7 separate regions of the Homo sapiens genome follow, and all the other regions are linked to region 1. The links are contacts of gene promoters, found by promoter capture Hi-C in blood cells and fetal thymus (Javierre and others, 2016). All regions are on one chromosome and are shown on one strand. The core of a region is centred on a gene start or on the middle of the fragment in contact, and the rest is flanking DNA. Distances in the headings are between cores, read along the strand shown. Region 1 holds the start of H2BC13 (H2B clustered histone 13). Region 2 has its middle 16 kb from the start of TRS-GCT1-1. Region 3 has its middle 9.4 kb from the start of TRV-CAC6-1. Region 4 holds the start of TRR-ACG2-2 (tRNA-Arg (anticodon ACG) 2-2). Region 5 has its middle 1.8 kb from the start of TRV-AAC5-1. Region 6 holds the start of TRI-AAT9-1 (tRNA-Ile (anticodon AAT) 9-1). Region 7 holds the start of TRQ-CTG5-1 (tRNA-Gln (anticodon CTG) 5-1).

Region 1 (3,313 bases), core at 561-3,060:
GGCACATGATAAGCAGTAAATAATTATGAAAAAGAGCCTTCTTATTTTTTACTAGATAGAATGATGTACTGTAATTTATTGCTAATCAGTCAAATTGCTTCAGTCTTATACTACAAACAGTGCTGCTGGAAACCCCTGCATATATTATTTTGCATATTTTCAAAAATAGTAAATTCCTAGGGGTGAAATTTCTGATGTAAAGATAGGTGCATTTTAAAATTTTGACAGGTATTACCAAATTTTCCTTTATGAAAGCACTACCAATTTGTGGGGCCACCAGCAATGATTGAGAATTAAGGTCTGGGAGGCTTATTCAGGATTTTCCATTCCTATAGCAGAATACTATGACTGGCCTATGGTGAATAGTAGATGCTTAATAAATGTTAGTAAATTGGATGGTAAATAGTATACGAAAAACAGTTGGGTTTGGGTGAAAACAAGAAAAACTTTTAAAAATCTACTCTGGCATCTTTTGCTAGCAGGCATTGACAATTAGGAGAAGGCAAGGTGTTAACTTTTACTGATCTCCCACTTTTTTTTTTGAGACAAGGCCTGGCTTTATCACCCAGGCTGGAGTGCAGTGGTGCGATCTCAGCTCACTGTAAACTCCGCCTACCAGGCTCAAGCCATCCTCCTACATCAGCCCCCTAAGTAGCTGGGACAACAGGGGCGCGCCACCACTCCTGGCTAATTTTTGTGCTTTTTGCAGAGACGGGGTTTTGCTATGTTGCCCAGGCTGGTTGCGAACTCCTGGGCTCAAGGGATCCGCCCGCCTCCACCTCCCAAAGTGCTGGGATTACAGGCATGAGCCACCGCGCCCACCCCTCTAGTTTCCAGTTTAGTCGGAAAGATTAAAAACGCCAGCCTTGTTTTCCTAGTGCTGTTTTTGGTTTTTACCTCGGGTCTTTTGTCGTGCCTTAAAATCATGTCTGGTTGCGCAAGTGAGGGAAAGGATTGGGTAAAGGGGGCGCCACCGCAAGTTGCTGTGCAACATCCAGACATCACCAGACCCACCACCTGGAGCCTGGCCTGGCGGTGTCAAACGCATTCTGGTCTCATCTTTTTAGAAACCCGTGGATGCTCAAGGAATTTCCGGATAACGTGATCCCGGATGCGCTTGACTGACTTACACGGAACGAGCAAAGCGCAAAGCAGTCCCTGCTAAGGACTTAGTTTATGCCCTCAAGCGCAAAGGTCGGACCCTCTATGGTGTTGGTAGCTATATGCACGTACCTCATGTACATTTCACCTTAAATGGCTTTCAAAGAGCTAGATTAATTTAGTGGATAGATCAAAATGATTTATGACCCCTCGCCCCCCAGTGATAGGAAGAGCGAACCAGCTCTTCTTTAGATAATAGTGAGTGGCTCTGAAAAGAGCCTTTGGGTTGGACAAGAGCTTGAGAATTTACTTGGAGCTGGTGTACTTGGTGACGGCCTTGGTGCCCTCCGACACCGCGTGCTTGGCCAGCTCCCCCGGAAGCAGCAGGCGCACGGCGGTCTGGATCTCCCTGGAGGTGATGGTCGAGCGCTTGTTGTAGTGCGCCAGGCGGGAAGCCTCGCTTGCGATGCGCTCGAAGATGTCGTTGACGAAGGAGTTCATGATTCCCATGGCCTTAGAAGAGATGCCGGTGTCGGGGTGGACCTGCTTCAGCACCTTGTACACGTACACGGAGTAGCTCTCCTTGCGGCTGCGCTTGCGCTTCTTGCCATCCTTCTTCTGGGCCTTGGTCACCGCCTTCTTGGAGCCCTTCTTCGGGGCGGGAGCAGACTTGGCCAGCTCGGGCATAATGAAACAATAGTGGCAAAACCAAAACAAGAAGTCGGTCTCCTCTTTTTATATAATAGTTTATGCGGCCGAGGTAGTGGGAAGGTCTCTGCTGATTGGTAATTATCCGTGGATGACGACAGATGCCAGTTTTGCCCAATCAAAATAGGTATCCTGCATAATCGAGTCCTATTGGTCTAAATAAAAATAAAACGTAAGCCAATCGCACAGCTTCCTTTTCGCGCCCAGTAGAGGCTATAAAATGTACGTTTTTCTAGTTTCACTTCAGTCTTTCTTGACCGTATAGATAATAGGCCTTTTGCCATGTCTGGGCGTGGCAAGCAGGGAGGCAAAGCTCGCGCCAAGGCCAAGACCCGCTCTTCTCGGGCCGGGCTTCAGTTTCCCGTAGGCCGAGTGCATCGCCTGCTCCGCAAAGGCAACTATGCGGAGCGGGTCGGTGCTGGAGCGCCGGTGTACCTGGCGGCGGTGCTGGAGTACCTGACCGCCGAGATCCTGGAGCTGGCTGGCAACGCGGCCCGCGACAACAAGAAGACTCGCATCATCCCGCGTCACCTCCAGCTGGCCATCCGCAACGATGAGGAGCTCAACAAGCTTCTGGGCAAAGTCACCATCGCACAGGGTGGCGTCCTGCCCAACATCCAGGCCGTGCTACTGCCCAAGAAGACCGAGAGCCACCACAAGGCGAAGGGCAAGTAGAAGCCTGGATTAGTTTGCAGCAACTCAATCCCAAAGGAACCAAAGGCTCTTTTCAGAGCCACCTACAATTTTGTGGAAGAACTGAGCACTATGTTTAATGTAATTTCTCGTCTTTGCCTACTTCTAAACCACTCCAAAGGTTACGTAGATCAGTCTTCGGTGTCTTGGTTAGGTAGTGACAATCTCGTTAGCTTTATAAAAAGCCTGGATAACATTAAAAGTATTAAACACGCCTTCATCTTAAGCTTAGTGGAAGAAAATTTAGTTTTTCCTAAGCTGGCATTATCCAAGTATGTTGAATTCTGTATGGTTCACCGTCGGGTTTTACTTTTAGTCTGTTGAAGCAAACATGTCTGCTTTGGGGCCAGATGTTTTCTGGGTCTTGGTAAATAACAAACCGGGCATTCGACGTTCAATCCAAATCTAGATCAACGACTTGGATTCTTCATTTCTGAGAAATATCTCTCGAATCTGTATAATTAATTGCATTTGAACATTAATGATTGAGTTGAGAATAATTATTAGACTAATTAGAACAGTTACTTATGGTGCCAGGTAGTTCTCTTTGAAGCATTTTCTGAAAATTCATTGAAATTAAAATTTCCCGAGCTTTCCCACCCCCAGCCACACAAATTGATTTCTTAGTACAGAGATGACTTAATTTGTTTCAGCATGGTAAATTCCACTTTTAAAATATCTGACTTGATGTTTTTAATCTGAATCAGATCTGGATGTACGAATGGAATAGATTCTTAAAAGAAAATGAATTACATTTCTAGAGTATTGGAAAAATAAGCTGCAATGGAATTACTTTAATCTAAAAGTGAAA
Region 2 (3,313 bases), core at 508-3,007, 690 kb before region 1:
GCACCACCATGCCCTGCTAATTTTTGTATTTTTAGTAGAGATGGGGTTTCACCATATTGGCCAGGCTGGTCTCAAACTCCTGACCTCGTGATCCACCTGCCTTGGCCTCCCAAAGTGCTGGGATTACAGGTGCAACCCACCGTGCCTGGCCATAAAACCTTGTTTTAAAAGAGGGGACCATTCTTTAGAAAGACTATTATAAACAGTTCCCTTTTAATTATTCCTAAGAATCATATACAAAATTCCTTTTATATATTCCCCTTCACAAACCTTGTCACAACTTACAAAGACCATCTGTGATATGCTTGGACTTTCTGACTTGTCCTATACTACCTCTTCCTTAAATACCTAGTAATTTGACTCTAGAACAAGAGTTTACCATATAAGATTTTCTTTTCATACTGCAATAGTCCTCTCATATTGATTTTTTAAAATTGAAGATCCTTTTTCATATACAGTTATGCTCTTTTCTTTATAACCTTCCTTTATACAATCATTCTTTATGACCTTCCTTACCAAAAATACATCTCCACATCCATAACTTTCTTCACATCTCTCTCCTACTTATAGATTCCTTATTTCATAGCCTTTTCTAATCCATAATTTGAATCAACCTTTATATAGTTTCTGAATTTGACAAAATTATTATCTCAATAAGAACACATTTTAACTAAATATTTTTATTTGCCACTTCAAAAGTTACCTAAGCCTCTTCCATGGAGATGGTAAGGTGTCCAGTGGGAGCTGTGGGGGACCTTGGGCCCGGTCAGTCTTGTTTTCTTGGCCATTATGGGTTTGGGTAGCCTAGGCTCCCTTTGAAGCTTGGAACAGTCCCTTTTTCAATGGCCCTCTTGCTTACAGAAGGCACAGTGATATTGGCCCTGGGGCCAGCAAGTTCGGGGCTCTCATCTGGGCATCTGAGATGCTGATCTCAAATCTCCTCAGGCTGGCTAACCCTGAGGTGGGAGAGGGTGCTTAAAGTAGTCACTAACAATTGCATTTTGGATATTATTTCTTTTGGTTATCTCTGCCTGTTTTGACCTGTGCCTATTGTTGTAAACTGGAAAGGCCATATTTAAAAATTGGCTTATAGGAGTTTGCGTTTCCCCTTTCTGCCTGTTATAGCTTCCTCCTAACATCAAGGACAGACTGAGTGATAAAAGAGTTTGCCTTTCTGGGGAGTCTGTCCTGCAATATTTCCTGAGTGCCTCAACCAAACAGCCCTGACTAGAATAGGATTTTTATCCTCCCCTACAGTTACTTCTCTAACCTTGTCATAATTAACTGGATTAAGCACACTTTCATATCTTCTATTAAACAAGTTACCTATGATTTCTACATTTGAGATCTCAGGAACCCCTCTGGTAATCCCATGGGGGTCCAAATCTGGAAGTACACTCCCACATACAATAAATGGCATGATCCTGGTTACAAGCAGCCATTCCATCAGCATATGCCCAGGCAGTATTCAAAAATCCCTTGTTTCTCCTCTACAGCACAGCAGGTGGACACTATTTGCAAGTCATGCCAAGTTACATCAAACTATAAACTTCCCTGGATCCTCTGATACCAGCCAATGTTTCCCTTGCATGAAGCTAAATCAGACATGGAAAAAGGCACAAGTACTGTTCCCGCCATTAGCAACGTCTCAACCTCTCACAATAGATGTAAGTTTGATTTTAAGGGCTGATAGGACTTTATCACTCCTGATTAGACTGGTTGGACTTATTTCCTCAGGCAGTATGGCATATAGGCTGGAGCTAGTTGGTTAAAGCAGAGGGGTGCCTGATGAACTTGGGATGGAATCCTGTAGTGGAGAACTGGCAGGACCCCCTTCCTCATATTAAGGCACCAAGGAGGCTCCAGGGAGAGTGAACCATTTTTAGGCCAAATTTCTTGGGAAATTAATTTGTACTAAACACTGTTATAATAGAAGATGAGTTTTTAAGACATCAAATTTGAATTTGCTTTAGTTGCCTAAAAGGCACCCTAGCAGGAAGTGTTTCAGGACGCTCACTGTTGTTATGTCTACCAGAGATACCTACTAAACCCAGAAATTCTTCCAAGTCCAGAGAGTCCAGTTACTTTTCCTTTCAAATTTCCACCTCCCTTTTCTTCAAGAGCAGTAGGGAAATTACCACTGACTCCTGCCAAAAGAACATGGGTATCAAGAAGTAGGTGCCACAAAAGTGAAAGATGAGTGGGCAGTGGGCTGGCAACTACCATCACTAGCTAATGGAATGTTACAAAGAAGGCACTTTAAGTATGGAAGTAAAAAAACGCTGACCAAATTAAGAACCCTTAGTGGAAATTTAAACCCCAATCTTAGAAAGGTGACCAAAAAACAAAGCCCCTAGGGCAGGACTCTCAATTCTAACGCCACGTAGAGTGGGACTGACAATAACCCAATAAATTCCCCCTAGAGTGGGACTCTAACCCAATCCTAGAAGGAACATGGCTCTGACATACAACCATGCATTTAGGAACTGAATGGTAATATCAAGTAGCCAGTCATTAGAGATTTAATAGACGATGGTCAAAAACGGGGCAATGGGGACATAATCTGAACATGGGACTAGCTGGAGGCCCCACTTTCATTTCCTGGTTTACCCAGAAAGGTCAATATGACAGGGAAATCACAGAAACCACATGGTGCCAATTGGCCATTAATTTGGGTCCAGGCAAAGGTTTCCAAAGCTTCAGTGTACAACCAGTTAGTCACCAAGAAAACATGGCTCTGAAAAGAGCCTTTGGCTAGTATATAGCATTACAGTATCACAACTCCAAACTTTATCTTGATGGTCAACCCGCTCATCTTGATGCTCCCTTCATGGTCTCTTCATTTTGATGGTTCCTTCCTTCAGGGTCACCAGGCTGACACAGGTGAACCCCAAAATTGGGACTTAACCCTGGAGGGCTTTTGGCTTCAGAGTTAATTTAAAAACACTTCCTAGACCAATAGTGTACAGCAAACTGCTCCATAAACAAAGGGCGACCTGTGTGCTAACCCACAGGCAGCACAGCCTGTAGTAGTAGTATACAGAAAAGTGGGTGCTCCACAGAGCACAAGCTAACCCACAGGCAGAGCAGCCAAGTAGCAGCATGCAGCAAAGTGGGCGCTCCACACAGCACAAGCTAACGCACAGGCAGAGCAGCCCAGAGTAGCAGCATGCAGCATAATAGGTGCTCCACAGAGCAAGGCTCACCCATAGAGCATCCCAGAGTAGCAGCATAGTACAGCAAAGCGGGTGCTCCACAAAGCAAGGCTAACCCATAGGCAGAGAAGCCTACAGCAACTGTGTACAGCAAGGTG
Region 3 (3,313 bases), core at 373-2,872, 610 kb before region 1:
ACTGGCACTACTGCTAGACCAAGGAGCCCTCAAGCGGCCCTTATCTGGGCGTGACAGAGGGCTCACACTCTCGTCTTCTGGTCACTTCTCACAATGTCCCTTCAGCTCCTAACTCTGTACGGCCTGGTTTTTCTTTGGTAATAATAATAATACAAAGATTAATACTAAAAACTAATGATTAATAATATCCATTATAATCACCTCTGTATTCTATTTCTAAAATAACTTTTTCTTATCATAATTATTTTCTTTATTATACTGGAAGAGGTTGTGCCTTCAGTCTCTTGCCTCAGCACCTGGGTGGCTTTCTGCCCACATTAGATAAGGCCAAATTAAAAGACCAGGTTTTTAAAGCATCTCAGGCTCATTTAACTCTCCTGCCTGGGACTGACATTCTCACTGAAGCTACTGATGGACTTTCAGACATAAACCCTCTTAAATGGATTAAGACCATTAGAGGATCAACTATTGCAAATTTTGCTTTAATGTGTATCTGTTTATACTGTTTGCTTTTAGTCTACAAATACAGAAGACACCTCTAGAGAGAGACCAGACACCACGAACAAGCCTTAATAACAATGGTGGTTTTTAAAAAAAGTGGGGCATATTGGGAAAAAGGCTTGTGGGGTGCCTGCATAAGCTGGCCATAAAAATATGAGACAATAAGTTGTGGAAAGCCACAAGAGGCCTCTGAAGAGGAAAGCCTTCTTATCGCCATTATGTTCCCATGCTCTGAGTGCAACCTGCTCTCTTATCTATAAACACTGTGTTCAAGAAGAAAGACACTCCTTTGAAGCATTGGAATGTAGACAGACGTGCAGGCTCCTAGTTAAGCCCGCTCCCACTAGCTACACTCCGATAAGTTATAGATACGATGTTTGGGCACAAAGGAGATTCATTTAAACCGCTATTGCTATAGATTATGCCTATAACACACTGCCTCCCTTTCACCGTTTCGCCCTAAACGTCTGCTTCTTAGATGTAAGTGATTGTACTCAATAAATAGTGTGGAGACTGGAGCTTGGTGCCTTTTGCAGCCTCCATTTTGCAATTGGCCCCCTGGCCCCCACTCTTTATACACTTTAAACCTGTCTCTTCTCATTCCTTCGTCGCCACAAAGACTTTAACTACCCTATGGGTGGTGTTGAGGCTGGTCCCCAACAAAGATCTCTCTCCACTTAGAAAGCTTTGGAGGGGCTTCTCTCAGCTCTCCAGTCCTGGTACTTGGCAGCAGAAATACAAAGTGCGCTAGATTGATTTCTCTTAGTTTTGTGGCTGTGCTCACCAACTTCAAAAGACTTTGCACCTGAGGATGCCTCAGTGGATATTCCTCTCCACTTTCCAGCCTGCCCATTCACCTTCTTTTGGGATGCTCTCCTCTAGCAGAGACAACTGGCAGTGGTTTTTTGGCTACTTGGAATTCTGTGCTTGGGTCAAGTAGGCCCACAGGCAAATCTTAAAAATCTTTTGGAGTTTTGATGGCTTTTTCCCTCATTTAGTATTCAAGGGTTTCTCTTCCTCTGCTTGTCTGCCCATCTGCCAGGAACAAGGGCAGCTAGAAACCTCTTTTCTCATATGAAGACCTCTTTCTAGGTGGAATTTGATTAGATTCCTTTGTATCAATTCCCTGGTGGGTTCAGAAAATCTACTATTTTGTAGCTTATGCTCTTGCTTTAGTTATTAAATAGAGAGAAACAGACTCTTGCAATTTTCTACAACTTAACCAGAAATGGAATTCAGTGGGGTGTATTTTTAAATACATTTCCTGATTTCTGTGCCAAAATGCCTTTTGTCATGTCTTGAAACTATTTCCTTTAAGATACATAGCAACAGCCTAGCCACTCTCACTTAGAAAACTAACCGTTTGAGGGTCCACTTCATGCCAGGTGCTTTGCATGTTGTTTTAGGTAAACTTTAAATCACACCTCATTGATCCAATGGATATTGAGATAGCCATTATTGTTCTTATATTTAAGTTATGCAAAGTCACAAATAATGTCAACATGATGACACAAAAACATCAAGAAGTGAAACGGCTAACTACCTACAAGTGCATTCCTAAGCTTTACTTAGACTTCTAGATGAATCTGCTGGTCACATGAAGAGTGACAGGATGTCACATAAGCATTTGTTTACATTTCAGAAAGTTACCTTTAATAGTGTCCATTGATTACACAGATGTTTACTGAGAACGTGACATGATCCAGTCTAGTCTTTTTTTTTTTTTTTGGAGAGAGAGTCTCGCTCTGTCGCCCAGGGTGGAGTGCAGTGGCACGATCTCAGCTAACTGCAACCTCCGCCTCCCAGGTTCAAGCAATTCTCCTGCCTTGGCCTCTGGAGTAGCTGGGACTACAGGCGCATGCTGCCACACCTACCTAATACTTTGTATTTTAGTAGAGATGGCATTTCACCGTGTTGTCCAGGCTGTTCTCGAACTCCTGAACTCAGGCAATCTGCCCGCCTCAGCCTCCCACAGTGGTAGGATTACAGGCGTGAGCTACCGCGCCCGGCTGATCCAGTCTATTCTTTACTGTGGTCATAATGGCCCCCAAACCACACGTGGTCTCTCCTCCACTCTTCCAGACCTCAAAATCCAGAGCACTCATGACTTCTTAATAATTGCTTAAGTATCCAGATGGTCTTCTCCACCTAGGGAGTATCTTTATTTTACCTTATGAAAGATCTTCTTGGCCGGGCGCTGTGGCTCACAACTGTAATCTCAGCACTTTGGGAGGCCACCACGGACAGATCACTTCAGGTCAGGAGTTCAAGACCAACCTGACCAACATGGTGAAACCCCTTCTCTTCTAAAAATACAAAAATTAGCCAGGTGTGATGTGCCACGCCTGTAGTTCCAGCTACTGGAGAGGCTGAGGTGGGAGAATCGCTCAAACCCAGAAGGCAGGTGGAGGTTGCAGTGAGCAGAGATCACACCACTTCACTCCAGCCTGGACAACAGATTGACACTCCGTCAAAAAAAAAAAAAAAAAAAAAAAAAAGACAGGTGCAGTGGCTTATGCCTGTAATCCCAACACTTTGGGAGGCCGAGGTGGGCAGATCACGAGGTCAGGAGATCAGGACCATCCTGGCTAGCATGGTGAAATCCCATCTCTAATAAAATTCAAAAAATTAAATGGGCGTGGTGGCATGCACCTGTAATCCCAGCTACTCAGGAGGCTGAGGTAACAGAATTGCTTGAACCTGGGAGGTGGAGGTTGCAGTGAACCAAGATCACACCACTGCACTCCAGCCTGGATGACAGAGCGAGACTCTGTCTCGGAAAAAAAAAAGAAAAAAGAAAAGAAAAGTAATG
Region 4 (3,313 bases), core at 286-2,785, 590 kb before region 1:
AAGTGCTGGTGTGAGCCACTGTGCCCAGCCAAAATGTTTACCTTTCTTGAATTATTATATCAATTTACCTAATTTGGGGAAGGAAGATGTTTCTTTCTTTCTTTTTTCTTTTCTTTTTCTTTTTCTTTTTTTTTTTTTTTGAGACGGAGTATCATTCTTGTTGCCCAGGCTGGAGTGCAATGGCGCGATCTAGGCTCACTGCAACCTCTGCCTCCCGGGGTCAAGCGATTCTCCCGCGTCAGCCTCCCGAGCTGGATTACAGGCATGTGCCACCACGCCCGGCTAATTTTTGTGTGTGTTTTTGGTAGAGACGGGGCTTCACCATGTTGGCCAGGCTGGTGTCGAACTCCTGACCTCAGGTGATCCACCCACCTCGGCCTCCTGGAGTGCTGGGATTACAGGCGTTAGCCATCGCACCCAGCCTGAGACATGTTTCTTAAAATCTTTTCTGTTGCATAGAGTCTTATAATTACAGAGGAAATTACTTCCTCTGTAATGGTTTTGTGGTTATGGTTGTTTTGTTATGATTCTTTGGAGAATGAGATGGAAAACATATGATGTATACCCCAAGAATGTATTTTATTCCATTTTCTTTTTCATTATCTCAAAATTTTAAAGTATTTTGATCTCTACTGTTCCACACAAAGCATCAGTATCCAACATAAGTATATTAAAAAATGAAATTATTTAATGAATGAACAGATGAACCGACTGCATAAATTAATGAAGCTTTCACAAGTGCAATAGACACAAGGGGGCGGTGGCTCACGCTTCTAATCCCAGCACTTTGGGAGGCTGAGGTGGGCGGATCACCTGAGATCGGGAGTTCGAATCCAGCCTGACCAACATGGAGAAACTCTGTCTCTACTAAAAATACAAAATTAGACAGGCGTGGGTGGCGCATGCCTGTAATCCCAGCTACTCGGGAGGCTGAGTCAGGAGAATCGCTTGACCCCGGGAGACAAAGGTTGCGGTGAGCCGAGATTGCCCCATTGAACTCCAGCCTGGTCATCAAGAGCGAAACTCCATTTCAAAAAAAAAGAAAAAACGGAAAACACACAGGATGATATTTTTCTTTAAAAATTAAAAAAAAAAAAAAAAAAAAGGCCGGGCGCGGTGGCTCATGTCTGTAATCCAAGCACTTTGGGAGGCCGAGGCGCTCTGATCACCTTAGGTCAGGAGTTCGAGACCAGCCTGGCCGACATGGTGAAACCCCGTCTCTACTTAAAATACAAAAATTATCCGAGCGTGGTGGCAGGCGCCTGTATTACTAGCTACTCGGGAGGCTGAGGCAAGAGAATTGCTTGAACTCGGGAAGCGGAGGTTGCAGTGAGCCGAAATCGCGCCATTGCCCTCCAGCCTGGGGGACAAGAGCGAGAATTCGTGTGTGGGGGGGGGAAGAAAATAAGCCTCCGAGCCAGCCAGGAGTCGAACCTAGAATCTTCTGATCCGTAGTCAGACGCGTTATCCATTGCGCCACTGGCCCGTCGTTGTGGGTCTCTCGATTATCTATTCTTCATTAGGATCACTAAGAAAATAGTTGGTTTGCAATACAACCAGGCGTACATTGAACAAGACTGTGGATTCTAGCAAAGCGCGATTGTCTTTGTGGTCAATTTAAATAAGTTTCACTCCCTTCAGATATTTATATTTATAAAGAAATTTTCTGCTTTGGAACATCATGTACATAATAGAGTTACTGTCGTTGACATTTGTTTACTTGATGTGCCCACTTCTTTCTTTTTTTCTTTTCTTTTCGTTTTTTTTTCTTTATGAGACGGAGTCTCCTTCTGTCACCAAGGCTGGAGTGGAGTGGCGCGATCTCGGCTGACTGCAACCTCCGCCTCCCCGGCTCAAGCGATTCTCCTGCCTCAGCCTCTCGATGAGCTGGGATTACAGGCGCGCGCCACCACGCCAGGCTAATTTTTTGTGTTTTTAATAGAGACAGGGTTTCACCATGTTGGCCAGGCTGGTGTCGAACTCCTGACCTCAAGTGATCAACCTGCCTCCCAAAGTGCTGGGATTACAGGCGTAAGCCACGGCGCCCGGCCTGGGAGATGTTTCTTAATGTCTTTTCTGTTGCATAAAGTATGAAATTATTTTCTCTGTAAGGATTCTTTGGTTATGTTTCTTTTGTTATGGTTCTTTGGAGAATGAAATGGAAAACATATGATGTGTACCTCAAGAAAGTATTCCATTTTCTTTTTCATTATCTCAAAATTTTTAAAGTATTTGGATCTCTGATCACTGTTCCACACAAAGCATCAGTATCCAACACAAGTATGTTTAAAAAATGAAATTATTTAATGAATGAGCAGATGCACCGACTGCATAAATTAATGAAGCTTTCACAAGTGCAATAGACACAAGGGGGCGGTGGCTCACGCTTGTAATCCCAGCACTTTGGGAGGCCGAGGCGGGCGGATCACCTGATGTCAGGAGCTGGAGACCAGCCTGGCCGACATGGTGAAACCCCGTCTCTACTAAAAATACAAAAATCAGCCGGGAGTGGTGGCGCGCGCCTGTAATCCCAGATACTCAAGAGGCTGGGGCAGGAGAATCGCTTGAACCCGAGAGGCGGAGGTTGCAGTGAGCCGAGATCGCGCCAGTGCACTCTAGACTGGGCGAGAGAGCAGGACTCTGTCTCATTAAAAAACAAAAACAAAAACAAAAAGCGGGTACATCAATGATAGATAATCGACAGACGCAGACTGAGTGGCCAGTAGTCAAAAGCGCAACCGAGGGCCAGTGGCGCAATGGATAACGCGTCTGACTACGGATCAGAAGATTCTAGGTTCGACTCCTGGCTGGCTCGGGTGTTAATCTTGGCTTTTTTTTTTTTTTTTTTTAAGAAAAATATCCTGTGTGTTTTCAAACTGATGACAGAAACCGGTTCTTAAAGTCCTTTGAAAGAAAATTCATCTGATCTGGCTCTTCACCTTGCACCGTACTGCTGCACATCACAATCGTGACCTTTAAGTCTGGTTTAAAGTTAAGTATCAAACTGAAATTTGAGACCTTAAGTCTCTTCGGAAATTGCTTTTTTTCTTTTTTTTTTTGAGACGGAGTCTCGCTCTGTCGCCCAGGCTGGAGCGCACTGGCTGCATCTCGGCACACTGCAACCTCTGCCTCCCGGGTTCAAGCAATTCTCCTGCCTCAGCCTCCCAAATAGCTGGTACTACAGGCTGACGCCGCCAGGCCTGGCTAATTTTTTGTATTTTAGTAGAGACAGGGGTTTCACCGTGTTGCCCAGGCTGGTCGCAAACTCCAGATCTCAGGCAATTCGCCCTCCTTGGCCTCCCCAAAGTGCTGG
Region 5 (3,313 bases), core at 256-2,755, 570 kb before region 1:
ACTGCACTCCAGTCTCGGTGACAGAGCAGGACTCTGTCTCAAAAAGAAAAAAAGAAAGAAAAGAAAATATATAAAGAATAGGGACAGGGTCCTCATCAAACCCATGATAAGAAGAACCTGAAAAGATTAACATTTTAAATATTTAATATTATCAATATAAAATGCAAGATAAAATAAGTTATTACTCAACCTACATTACATTGGAAGAATTAGAAAGCTTGATGTGTCCATTATTGCAGAAATGGGAATATGGAAGCCCTCATATCCTGCTGGTGGAAGTTTATATTAATGTAGCCATTTTGGAAAGCAGTCTAATACTTTTTACTCAAGTTAAGATTGACACACTCAATGACCTAGGTATTCGGCTCCTAGGTGTATATTCCCCCTCATGTCACAAAGATATAGATTGTATCATATGTGGATGTTAATTGCCTCACTATTTTTCCTCTTCCAGAATCAGATTCAGCCTTGAAGCCAACATTGAACAGTAGATACGTGAAGTGTGGTAAACACATAATATTAAATATTATGCAACTATGAGATGTACTAGAGTATATGTAAATGTACCAATCTTTTTTTTTTTTTTTTTTTTTCTTGAGATGGAGTCTCACTCTTTCACCCAGGCTGGAATGCAATGCCATGATCTTGGCTCACTGCAACCTCCACCTCCCTGGTTCAAGGAATTCCCCTGCCTCAGTCTCCCGAGTAGCTGGGATTACAGGCACACGCCACCACGCCCGGCTAATTTTTTTTGCATTTTTAGTAGAGATGGAGTTTCACCATGTTGGCCAGGCTGGTCTCGAGCTCCTGACCTTGTGATCTGCCTGCCTTGGCCTCCCAAAGTGCTGGGATTACAGGCCTGAGCCATAGCGCCTGGCCGCATGTACCAATCTTAAAAAGAAATTTTTTTTTAAAAAGATACTTGGCCGGGCGCGGTGGCTCACGCCTGTAATCCCAGCACTTTGGGAGGCCGAGGCGGGTGGATCATGAGGTCAGGAGATCGAGACCAGCCTGGCTAACAAGGTGAAACCCCGTCTCTACTAAAAATACAAAAAATTAGCCGGGCGCGGTGGCGGGCGCCTGTAGTCCCAGCTACTGGGGAGGCTGAGGCAGGAGAATGGCGTTGAACCCGGGAAGCGGAGCTTGCAGTGAGCCGAGATTGCGCCACTGCAGTCCGCAGTCCAGCCTGGGCGACAGAGCGAGACTCCGTCTCAAAAAAAAAAAAAAAAAAAAAAAAAAAAAAGATACTTAACACAATAAGATTTTCCCTTCTGTTAGCACTAATCATTCTGCTCTCTGGCATTCAAAATCTTGCTACTTGCTACTGCTCATCATTTTCTCATCTTTTTGTCCCTGTGTATTTATGTCTTTAAACACCCTTAATGCTTTGTATAAGTGTAGTTTGGAATAAAGAGAAAGCAAAAGCTGTGCTTAATTTGCCATCATTATAATTAGGTCTATCTGTGACTTACTATGATTTTTTCTCACCATGGAATCCTAAGGATTGGTAAAATAGTGTGTGGTGATATCCACTTGTGGTGATAGGGAACCATCATTTTATTGGGATCAAATACCAAAGAGTCTAGAAAATAAAATTTTACGTCAAATTTTCTTGTCTCTCATTTCACCACTTCAGTCTATTGAGGTTAAGCTGAAAGAACAAATATCACATCCAGGACAGAACCTCATTTGCAAGCTGCTTGCTATTTTTCTGACCACTTTCCCTAAGTTCTGACAAATGCTGGCTCAGTTACTACTATTCCGCCTTCCTTACCGCTCCAACTTTTCAAAATATAGAGCTAAAAGCCAGATCCACATGAGCTGCCCTAGAAAGACGCAAATGCCTTTATATCCTGGGCATTTTCTATTCCTGGGGTTCTGGACTCAAGACCTTCTCAGGCCATCTGAATCCCTGGCCTACTCTTTGTTGGCTGAAGCTGGCAGCTTTCCACATTTTTCACAGCTTCCATGCTAGTCTCAGAAATCAGCTGTTAATTTGGTATTCTGAATGTTTGGCAATTGTAAGCACTTGGGCTTTGTGGAGGGCCCTTTATGGAAGCCAGAAAAAAATGAGGAAATGTTAGCCAGACCCCAGAACCCTGTAGTCTGCTGGAGCAGGCAACCAGATGATAACAATTGTAAAATAATTCATTGGTCTCTCTATTATGAAATTTAAAAAGCAGGATAAAGGGATCAGTCCTTGGTTTATTTTGGATCTCCTGCAGAGCAAAACCATGACCTTCTGCATATAACACACAGTGATAATCACTACACTAACACAAAATGTCATAGCTGAGGACAGGTACAAATGCTAGAAAAAAAATGGCTACAGTAAAATCCAAGGATAGTCTCACTACAAGATAAAGTAAGGAGAGTATTTCAAGTGCTAAACAATTTTATATGCATCTCAATTGGCACAAGTTTGAAAGACCCATCAATTACAATACACTGAAAAAAGGTAAGTTTAGATATCCAAAACTGAACTCTTGATTGTTACTTGTTCTCATTCATTCATTCACTAAAGAAATGTTAATTAATTCTCTACTAAAAGTCCTAAGCCAGAGACTATTAAGTAGCTGGGAATAAAGCAGTGGACACGACAGACAAAATATCCTTTTCCTCATGGAATTTATGTTTTAATTCCTATCAAATAGCTGTTGATGATCAAATATGCTATCTTTTGACGAAAATTTTTACCATAGTTAGCAGAACTCTATCGCTTCTTTAGGATTTATAAAATCTAGCCTACTAGATGCTTTTCACTATGCTAAGGATGAGATAATTATGGATGAGGAAGCTTATCCTCATGTTCATATATATATATGTATATAAAACAGCAAAAAATACATAGTGTGAGAAGCATATATACATATATATACATATGTGTAAATATACATATGTATTTATTACCAATTACCATGTATGATATATAGATATTTGCTCATTGGTAACTGATCCTAATGAATACGGTTGTTCTGTCTTGATTTTAAACTTCCCCTTACACACCCAAGCTATTTATTTCTTGTTATACGCCTTTGCATGAACACTGCGTCTGCCTTTTGTTTCAAACCTCAAGAAAGAGTCTCATTTAGGAGTAAGCGGGACTTTGAATGAATCTCACTGACAGGCTGCTAGCATGAAGAAAAAAATACTCGAGGTCACCAATATCCTGCTTAATTTTCAGTCATCGAGAAATGAACATTAGAGCGTCTTATGAGAGCAGAGAGCAGAGAACATACCAAAAAAAAAAAATGAACTGAAATAAAATTTCCCGAGAGACTGCCTGATATTTCCCCGCCCTGTGCTTCTGAAG
Region 6 (3,313 bases), core at 606-3,105, 530 kb before region 1:
AATCACCCTTGGGACTCCTAGGTACAGAAGCTGGGAGGACCACCCAGATTCGCTTACCAGAAGATGCCCATAGAGCCCCGAGGCGAAGGTGTTCCAATTTCCTCAGGTGAAGGATATCTACTGGTGGCTACAGGGCACAAATAAAGAAAAAGTGCGTGGATGCCACGTACCAGTTCATGTCCAGCAGAGATCCGAATGCCCATTTTAGTTACATTTGACCCTCCAGACCCCTAGTCCCAGAACCTGCCCTCCCCCAAGCTCTCTCTCTACCTCTGTGCCCACTCCAATCAGTCAAACAGAGCATTCCAGGGCAAACCCAAAAGAAGAGCAGGCAATTTAGCCACCCTGGGGCTTGTAGCCTGAACTCTTCAGACATGTTGTCCCAGTCGGAGCCTGGAGACACAGCTCAACATCTGCTTGCCCCAAGAACCCTGAGGCTCCAAGATCTCCGGACAGCCCTGGAAGACAGGCCGCTGCACTTATATAATAACAGGGTCCTCTCTGGTGCCAAAAGCCTGCAACCCATAGCAGAAAATAGCTCCTCCAAATAGCTCTTCATCCTCCAAATAACTGGGAGATGATTCCAGTCAAGTTGGAATAACAGGGATCAGATTTACATTCCTGCTGTAAAGAACCAAAACCTAACAAAAAAGATGAAATGACACTTTTCAAGACATACAGTATTTGGTAAGGAAGAATAGTAACCCCTAATCACAGGGGAAAAAATGAATGATTGGAGAGAGGGGGAGGTGAACAGTAGGATTAGCCCCTAACTAAGGCCTTGAATTTCCAGGCCCCAATGCAGAAAGGCAGAACCCAAGCAGAGCCTGGTGGACTCCCAGAGTTGATGAGGAGTTGATAGACTGGGAGACTGGGGCAGCTAGAGTGAATATGATAGCATACCAGAAAGAAGAGAGCTGTAATAAGAGATAACTCCAGAAAGAACTTCTGAAGTATTCAGCTTAATATTCATGAGTATGTGCAGGTATGGAACCTATACAGGACAGAAAAGACTACCCAGAATGATCAGAGGTAATATGATATTGAATTGTCTAAAGTAACTAAGAAATTGTTTCTCCTTGTGAGACAAACAGGAATTATATTGCTGAATTTAATGCTTTCACCACAAAAAAGGATGAGGGTCTAGATTAATGGGGAGGGGGAGTGGTGTGGGGGAAGAGACCCAAAATGTTGGCTGGTTAGTTCAGTTGGTTAGAGCGTGGTGCTAATAACGCCAAGGTCGTGGGTTCGATCCCCATATCGGCCACATATTTTCCTCAGTACTTTTTCTCGGTAGTTCTAGAGAAACTCGTCGGTTTTCAGCCACCAAAGAGCTAAGGATAATTAACAATGCAACTCGTCGGTTTTTAGCCAGCGAAGAGCTGAGGGTGATTAACAGTGCTCTCAGATGGTACAAATTCCCTGCCATCATTTCTTAATCTATCTGAAACCTAACTCCATCCCCGAATCACCCAAATTTCTACATCTCCTCAGGTAAAGTTCTTATTCTTTTCTTCCAGGTGTAAGGGCTGGGGACAGAAAGCTGTTCAGGGCAGAGGGCCCAAGATCGGGAGTCCTGCCGAAGGAAACAAAAAATGAGAAATTAGAAGATTATTGGCGTCTTAAAAATTATTTAAATAAAGCTTACTTGATTTCAAATTGTCCTTCCAAATTTCTATTGAAACCAACCTTGTTTCTCAAATTGACAAGAGATACAAGATAAAGAGAAGAAATATTGAATTGCCCTTTCAAGTTGGAAGCAGTATGCAAGGTGCATGTTTATTAATCACAAGAGGCTAGATTCGACTCCTTTCTAGCTCATCCTTTCCTAAAAACAAAACAAGAAACCAAACCAAAACAAAACAAAACACACCAAGTCTGTGTTCCATGTTCAAAGCGATAGCTTCCTCTCAGGGCAATCTTTTCTGTCAGTTAAATCTAAAAAAGTCTTCAGAGACATATAATAACAATCTCCTAAGAATTTGTTCTCTCTATCTTGTATCTCTTGCCAATTTGAGAAAGAAGGTTGGTTTCAGGAGCAATTTGGGAGGACAATTTGAAATCAAGTAAGCTTCATTTAAATAATTTTTAAAAAGCCAGTAATCTTCTAATTTTTTTTTTCTTTCATTAGGCAGAGCTCCCAATCTTGGGTCCTCTGCCCTGAACAGCTTTCTGTCCCCAGCCCTAACACCTAGTGGAAAAGAATAAGAACTTTACCTGAGAAGATGTAGAAATTTGGGTGATTCGGGAATGGAGTTAGAATTCAGATGGATTAAGAAATGATGGCAGCGAATTTGGACCATCTGAGAGCATTGTTTATTACCCTCAGCTCTTCACTGGCTGAAAACCGACGATTTGCATCGTTAATTATCCGTAGCCCTTCGCTGGCTGAAAACCGACGAGTTTCTGCAGAACTGCCATAAAAAACTACTGGGGAAAATACGTGGCCAGTACGGGGATCGAACCCGCGACCTTGGCGTTATTAGCACCACGCTCTAACCAACTGAGCTAACCAGCCGACGCTGGGTGCAGCTCTTCCCCCCCCACCCCCCGCCCTTAATCTCGACACTCATCCTTTTTTGGGAAAGCATTAAATTCAGCAATATAATTCTTGTTTGTCTCACAAGAAGAAACAATTTCTTAGTTGCTTTAGATTCTTAATAAAAAGAATGAGAAACTTTCTCTTAAAACAAAAACAAAACAAGGAAATAACATTTTTTATTTATTTATTTTTATTATTTTATTTTTTAAGCCGTGTTCCTAGAGTTGAAAGAGGACGCTTAAAAATTTCAAACTGCGGCGAATAGTCCAGGAATCCATGGAAACATTTGTTGCTTTCTAAATGTCTGGTAATCAGTACGTGCAGACAATGAATCAGACTCGGTGAAATATTAGCGAGTCCTTGTTTTGTAAGAGCCGTTCACTAACACAACCCAGAAATTGGCACCTGAAGGATATTCCCGACGAGTCTGTTTTCGATGGTCCCACCGTCGAGATCGTCCCAGGCAGGTTTCTCATGCCCGGAGCCTCCATTTGGAAGTTTCCCTACCTGTTGCCTCAGATTTCCAGAGTGACCTCAAATCAAAGCCCACTTTGAAGACCTTGGTATTGGAGAATTCTAGAAATGTGGCTCTACTCACCCTTCAGGGACGGTTAAACCGATCTTTCTACCCAGCCATTGTCTCCTAAAAATATTACAATTGTTTTTAATATCTTCTTTATCGTTCCAGAGATTTTTAACGCATAGCCAAAGTTAAACAAATGTTTTCTTTTTTCTCTTCACAAATAGTGGCATTTTATCTACTTTTTAAAT
Region 7 (3,313 bases), core at 383-2,882, 510 kb before region 1:
CTATTAAGACTCTAAAGCAACTAAGAAATTGTTCCTCCCTGTAAGACAAACAGGAATTACGTTGAAGAATTTAATACTTTCACGGAGAAGGGGCGAGGATGCGGGTGAGATGAATAACAAAAGCACAGATTTGCGGTCGGCCGGTTAGCTCAGTTGGTTAGAGCGTGCTGCTACTAATGCCAGGGTCGAGGTTTCGATCCCCGTACGGGCCTTTGGCTTTTTCCCCCCTCGAGAAATTTGGTTTTCATGCTCTAAGATGATTCAAATTAACCGTCCCCATTTCTTAACGAACCTAGAACCTAAGTTCGTTTCCGAATCATCTGAAATGCTACATCTCCCCAGGTAATAATCTTCTTCTTCTTCTTCTTCTTTTTTTAAATGTTCTTTCTGTTTCCTCCAGGAATAAGGGTTGGGGACAGAAAGCTGTTCAGAGCAGAGACCTCCAAGACTGGGAGCCTGCTTAATGAAAGGGGGGGGGGGCGGGGAAGAGTTCAAGGAGTGGAAAAATAACTGGCATTTTTTTTAAAAAAATAAAGCTTATTTGATTTCAGATTTTCCTTCCAAATTAGTCCTGAAACCTACCTTCTTTCTCAAATTGTAGAGACACAAGATAAAGAGAATAAATCCTTAGAAGGTTGTGGATATGTGTCTCTGAAAACCCTTTCGAATTTAACTGACAGACGACATTGTCCTGTGAGGAAGCTATCACTTTAAACAAGGAACACAGACTTTTTGTTTTGTTTTGTTCACAGAAACCGATTCTGTGTGTGTGTGTGTGTGTGTGTGTGTGTCTGTGTTTGTGTTTTCACATGGGCTCCTGTGTGTGTCACAAAGGGATATGCGAGGGAGAAGCAGGGAGTTTTCTTTGTGTCCGTTTGGAAGTTTACCCTGCACATATTTCTCATTGGTGAAGGGCAGTGGAAGGACCAGGGGAGCTATGCACTGTCCTGGGAAACTCCAGAGGGACCTTTGTCTACCCTTCCCCTTCTTTCCCTGAGTTGCTATCCTAGGGTTGCTGGGATCTTCCTCTAACCCAGTAGTTCAAGTGCATTTATTTCAGCTTTCTGTAAACAGCAAAGTGGCTCCCCTGTGACTTCGGTAAAATCTTTCCATAACGTGTCCTTAAAAACGCTACATGTTACCCTGGTAAAAACGATTTTTGAGAAAATAATTAGATCTATAACGAAAAGGAGTAAAGCATCTCAGGTATCTGACTCAAATTTCTCACCTGTAAAATAGAGATTATGGGTCCCATCTCACAGCGTGGTTGTGAGCCTCACAGGTAAGGTAACAATAGAAAACACTTGTCACAAAAACTGGCACACGGTAACCTGGCATACTGTGTGCCTGGCACCTGGCACACAGTCTTGTTTAACAATCTCACTTGTCTACCATTGATGAAATAGAGGCCGAGGCCCGGGGCGCCAAGCTCCTAAAGCACTTGAAAGGAGTGGTTTAGGATTAGAGGACTCCTGACAGTTGGAAGTCAACGTTTTCCATTAAGACTGTGGTGTAAAAGGTGTTGAATGTAGGCATGTGGCAGGTAAGCGTCTTCTTGACTTAATCCTCCAAGAGGAAAAGCAGAATGCACCCATCACCCAAACTATGGGGCGGAGGGAAGGAACCTAAAGTGGAGAAATAGGTCACCTATGACTTTAGGAAATGCTAGTTCAGCTTCAGGTTCCATGGTGTAATGGTTAGCACTCTGGACTCTGAATCCGGTAATCCGAGTTCAAATCTCGGTGGAACCTTGGATTTAGTCCTCTGCAGTCAAATCCCCATCGTCTCTCCACAATCTATACTGTTGCTCATACAAATCACTCGACCAAATTTTATTCCTGGTATTTCCACGTCACATCTCTTGAGCGGAGTATCTTTAGCTGCCAACCAAATAATAACTTTCTTTTTGCTGCGCACAATTTGTTCTTTGGAGAAAAAAGAGAGAAGCCTCAAAAGGAAATGCACGAGGCAGTCGCTCGAGTCCTGCTGGAACTGCAAATCAAAGTCTCCAGAAAAGATCTGCAAACAAGTGAGGAGACAATAGATAGGAGGCTAGTGAGAAGAGAGAAAGGAAATTTGGTGATAGTCACGAACAGAGAAAAGCTGGGATGGAAACTGAGGAAAGGACTTACCCACTAAATGGGTCTGGGAGAGGTGACAGTCGCCGAAGCCGAGAGAAAACTGTCCTCAGACAAGACCACAAGGGGATAGAAGCTCAACTTGTGAGGGCTGGGCAGATAGAACAGGTGACGGGAAAGATACAACTGGCGATAGTCAATAGTCAATAGAGATAGATGCTGTTTCGAGTTTGCACAAGCAAGTTTTACTTGGACAGAGAAGAGGGGGAAATGAGCTGAAAAGACTCCCTTTCCCAGGATAACAGAGTTTACTCTACGCCCTCTCCCCGCCAATCTCCCCAGCCACCAACCTCCCGCAGCGTTTCCTAGTGAGGGTTCCCTGAGCTCATTGCTGGGCGCTCAGCAACTCGGCTTTCTTGGCATTTCCGTCTGGGCATGGACAAGCTCCTGAAGAAGGGGTTTCAGAGCTCGGACCCTCTTAGACAGATTGTAGAAGTTCAGTCACCCGGAAATTGCTGGGGCGGTTTGGTTTTGGAGAGAGGCGGGGACGAAAGAAGAAAGCTGTGAGCGAGGAGAGAAGGCAGGGAATGTGAACAGGAAAAAGCTCTTGCGCTAAGGAATGTCAGAGAAGCCAGCGCCCGGTGCAGCCGAGAAGCTTAGCGACAGGGTTGCTGGGCCGGAGACCACGAGATCCTAGAGGCTACAAAGAAACATTTCCCCATATGTGTCTCCCCTACCGCGCACTAGCTCCCTATGGGATGTGAATGCTCCCTACTTCCATCTTCCCCTGCAAATCATTCTCGCCTTTTAGATAATATCTTACCGTGACAGAACAACTGGAAATGCTGGTGTCTCCAAAGTCTTCTGTAAACAAGACACAGAGATGTGTGTCTCAATTGCGTATTTTACACGATTTTATGAAGGAACTGACAAATTCCTCATTTACTTCCGACTAATAACATTCCATTTTTAACAAAACGGAACGTACATATTGGGCCATGGAAAGTTAGTGTTTTCATTTTTTTTTACAATTATTGAGACTCGTAGGAAAATTCTTGGACTTTTATCAAATATGAATACAAATACAAATATGGATATCCGTAAAGTTATATATTTTACGTCCTCCCAAATCTCCTGCTCGCCATCACTTTTATTTATTGCTAAAATTTATTTATTAAATTTAGATAAACGTAATGAGAATGTGTTGAAGATTCCACTTTAAATAATGCACCTTA

What was found. Contacts are between HindIII fragments. The CHiCAGO score rates a contact against its expected background, and 5 or more counts as called.
Region 2: a contact is called between a fragment that was not itself captured here and the fragment with the promoter of H2BC13 in region 1, in 5 of 17 cell types (activated CD4 T cells, total CD8 T cells, non-activated CD4 T cells and 2 more). The highest score is 7.0, in activated CD4 T cells.
Region 3: a contact is called between a fragment that was not itself captured here and the fragment with the promoter of H2BC13 in region 1, in 15 of 17 cell types (endothelial precursors, activated CD4 T cells, erythroblasts and 12 more). The highest score is 13.4, in endothelial precursors.
Region 4: a contact is called between a fragment that was not itself captured here and the fragment with the promoter of H2BC13 in region 1, in 4 of 17 cell types (megakaryocytes, erythroblasts, endothelial precursors and 1 more). The highest score is 6.7, in megakaryocytes.
Region 5: a contact is called between a fragment that was not itself captured here and the fragment with the promoter of H2BC13 in region 1, in 2 of 17 cell types (endothelial precursors and erythroblasts). The highest score is 7.0, in endothelial precursors.
Region 6: a contact is called between a fragment that was not itself captured here and the fragment with the promoter of H2BC13 in region 1, in 1 of 17 cell types (endothelial precursors). The highest score is 5.2, in endothelial precursors.
Region 7: a fragment that was not itself captured here is called in contact with the fragment with the promoter of H2BC13 in region 1 in 1 of 17 cell types (endothelial precursors); the score reaches 5.0 in endothelial precursors.

The regions. Positions count from the first base shown.
Region 1 is chr6:27,806,119-27,809,431 of GRCh38, forward strand. It overlaps H2BC13 (H2B clustered histone 13), which reads right to left and starts at 1,811. Exons shown (of 1, transcript NM_003519.4): 1 at 1,361-1,811. The coding sequence starts at 1,788. The coding sequence ends at 1,408. H2AC13 (H2A clustered histone 13) reads left to right here and starts at 2,055. Exons shown (of 1, transcript NM_003509.3): 1 at 2,055-2,549. The coding sequence starts at 2,092. The coding sequence ends at 2,484. It also overlaps the pseudogene H4C10P. RefSeq lists enhancers at 516-1,116, 1,117-1,716, 1,279-1,378, 1,629-1,858, 2,199-2,398 and 1 more. The HindIII fragment of the contact is 5,899 bases long and covers 1-2,377 here.
Region 2 is chr6:27,111,658-27,114,970 of GRCh38, forward strand. No RefSeq gene overlaps it. Among named protein-coding and RNA genes, the nearest start is that of TRS-GCT1-1, 16 kb to the left of the region's middle. The HindIII fragment of the contact is 1,876 bases long and covers 820-2,695 here.
Region 3 is chr6:27,195,117-27,198,429 of GRCh38, forward strand. No RefSeq gene overlaps it. Among named protein-coding and RNA genes, the nearest start is that of TRV-CAC6-1, 9.4 kb to the right of the region's middle. The HindIII fragment of the contact is 877 bases long and covers 1,185-2,061 here.
Region 4 is chr6:27,212,431-27,215,743 of GRCh38, forward strand. TRR-ACG2-2 (tRNA-Arg (anticodon ACG) 2-2) reads right to left here and starts at 1,486; the gene lies at 1,414-1,486. It overlaps TRR-ACG2-3 (tRNA-Arg (anticodon ACG) 2-3), which reads left to right and starts at 2,743; the gene lies at 2,743-2,815. RefSeq lists an enhancer at 2,713-3,213. The HindIII fragment of the contact is 1,616 bases long and covers 728-2,343 here.
Region 5 is chr6:27,232,011-27,235,323 of GRCh38, forward strand. No RefSeq gene overlaps it. Among named protein-coding and RNA genes, the nearest start is that of TRV-AAC5-1, 1.8 kb to the right of the region's middle. The HindIII fragment of the contact is 2,580 bases long and covers 216-2,795 here.
Region 6 is chr6:27,272,767-27,276,079 of GRCh38, forward strand. TRI-AAT9-1 (tRNA-Ile (anticodon AAT) 9-1) reads left to right here and starts at 1,194; the gene lies at 1,194-1,267. TRI-AAT3-1 (tRNA-Ile (anticodon AAT) 3-1) reads right to left here and starts at 2,518; the gene lies at 2,445-2,518. The HindIII fragment of the contact is 428 bases long and covers 1,642-2,069 here.
Region 7 is chr6:27,293,754-27,297,066 of GRCh38, forward strand. TRQ-CTG5-1 (tRNA-Gln (anticodon CTG) 5-1) reads left to right here and starts at 1,680; the gene lies at 1,680-1,751. It also overlaps the pseudogene TRS-ACT1-1. The HindIII fragment of the contact is 2,197 bases long and covers 535-2,731 here.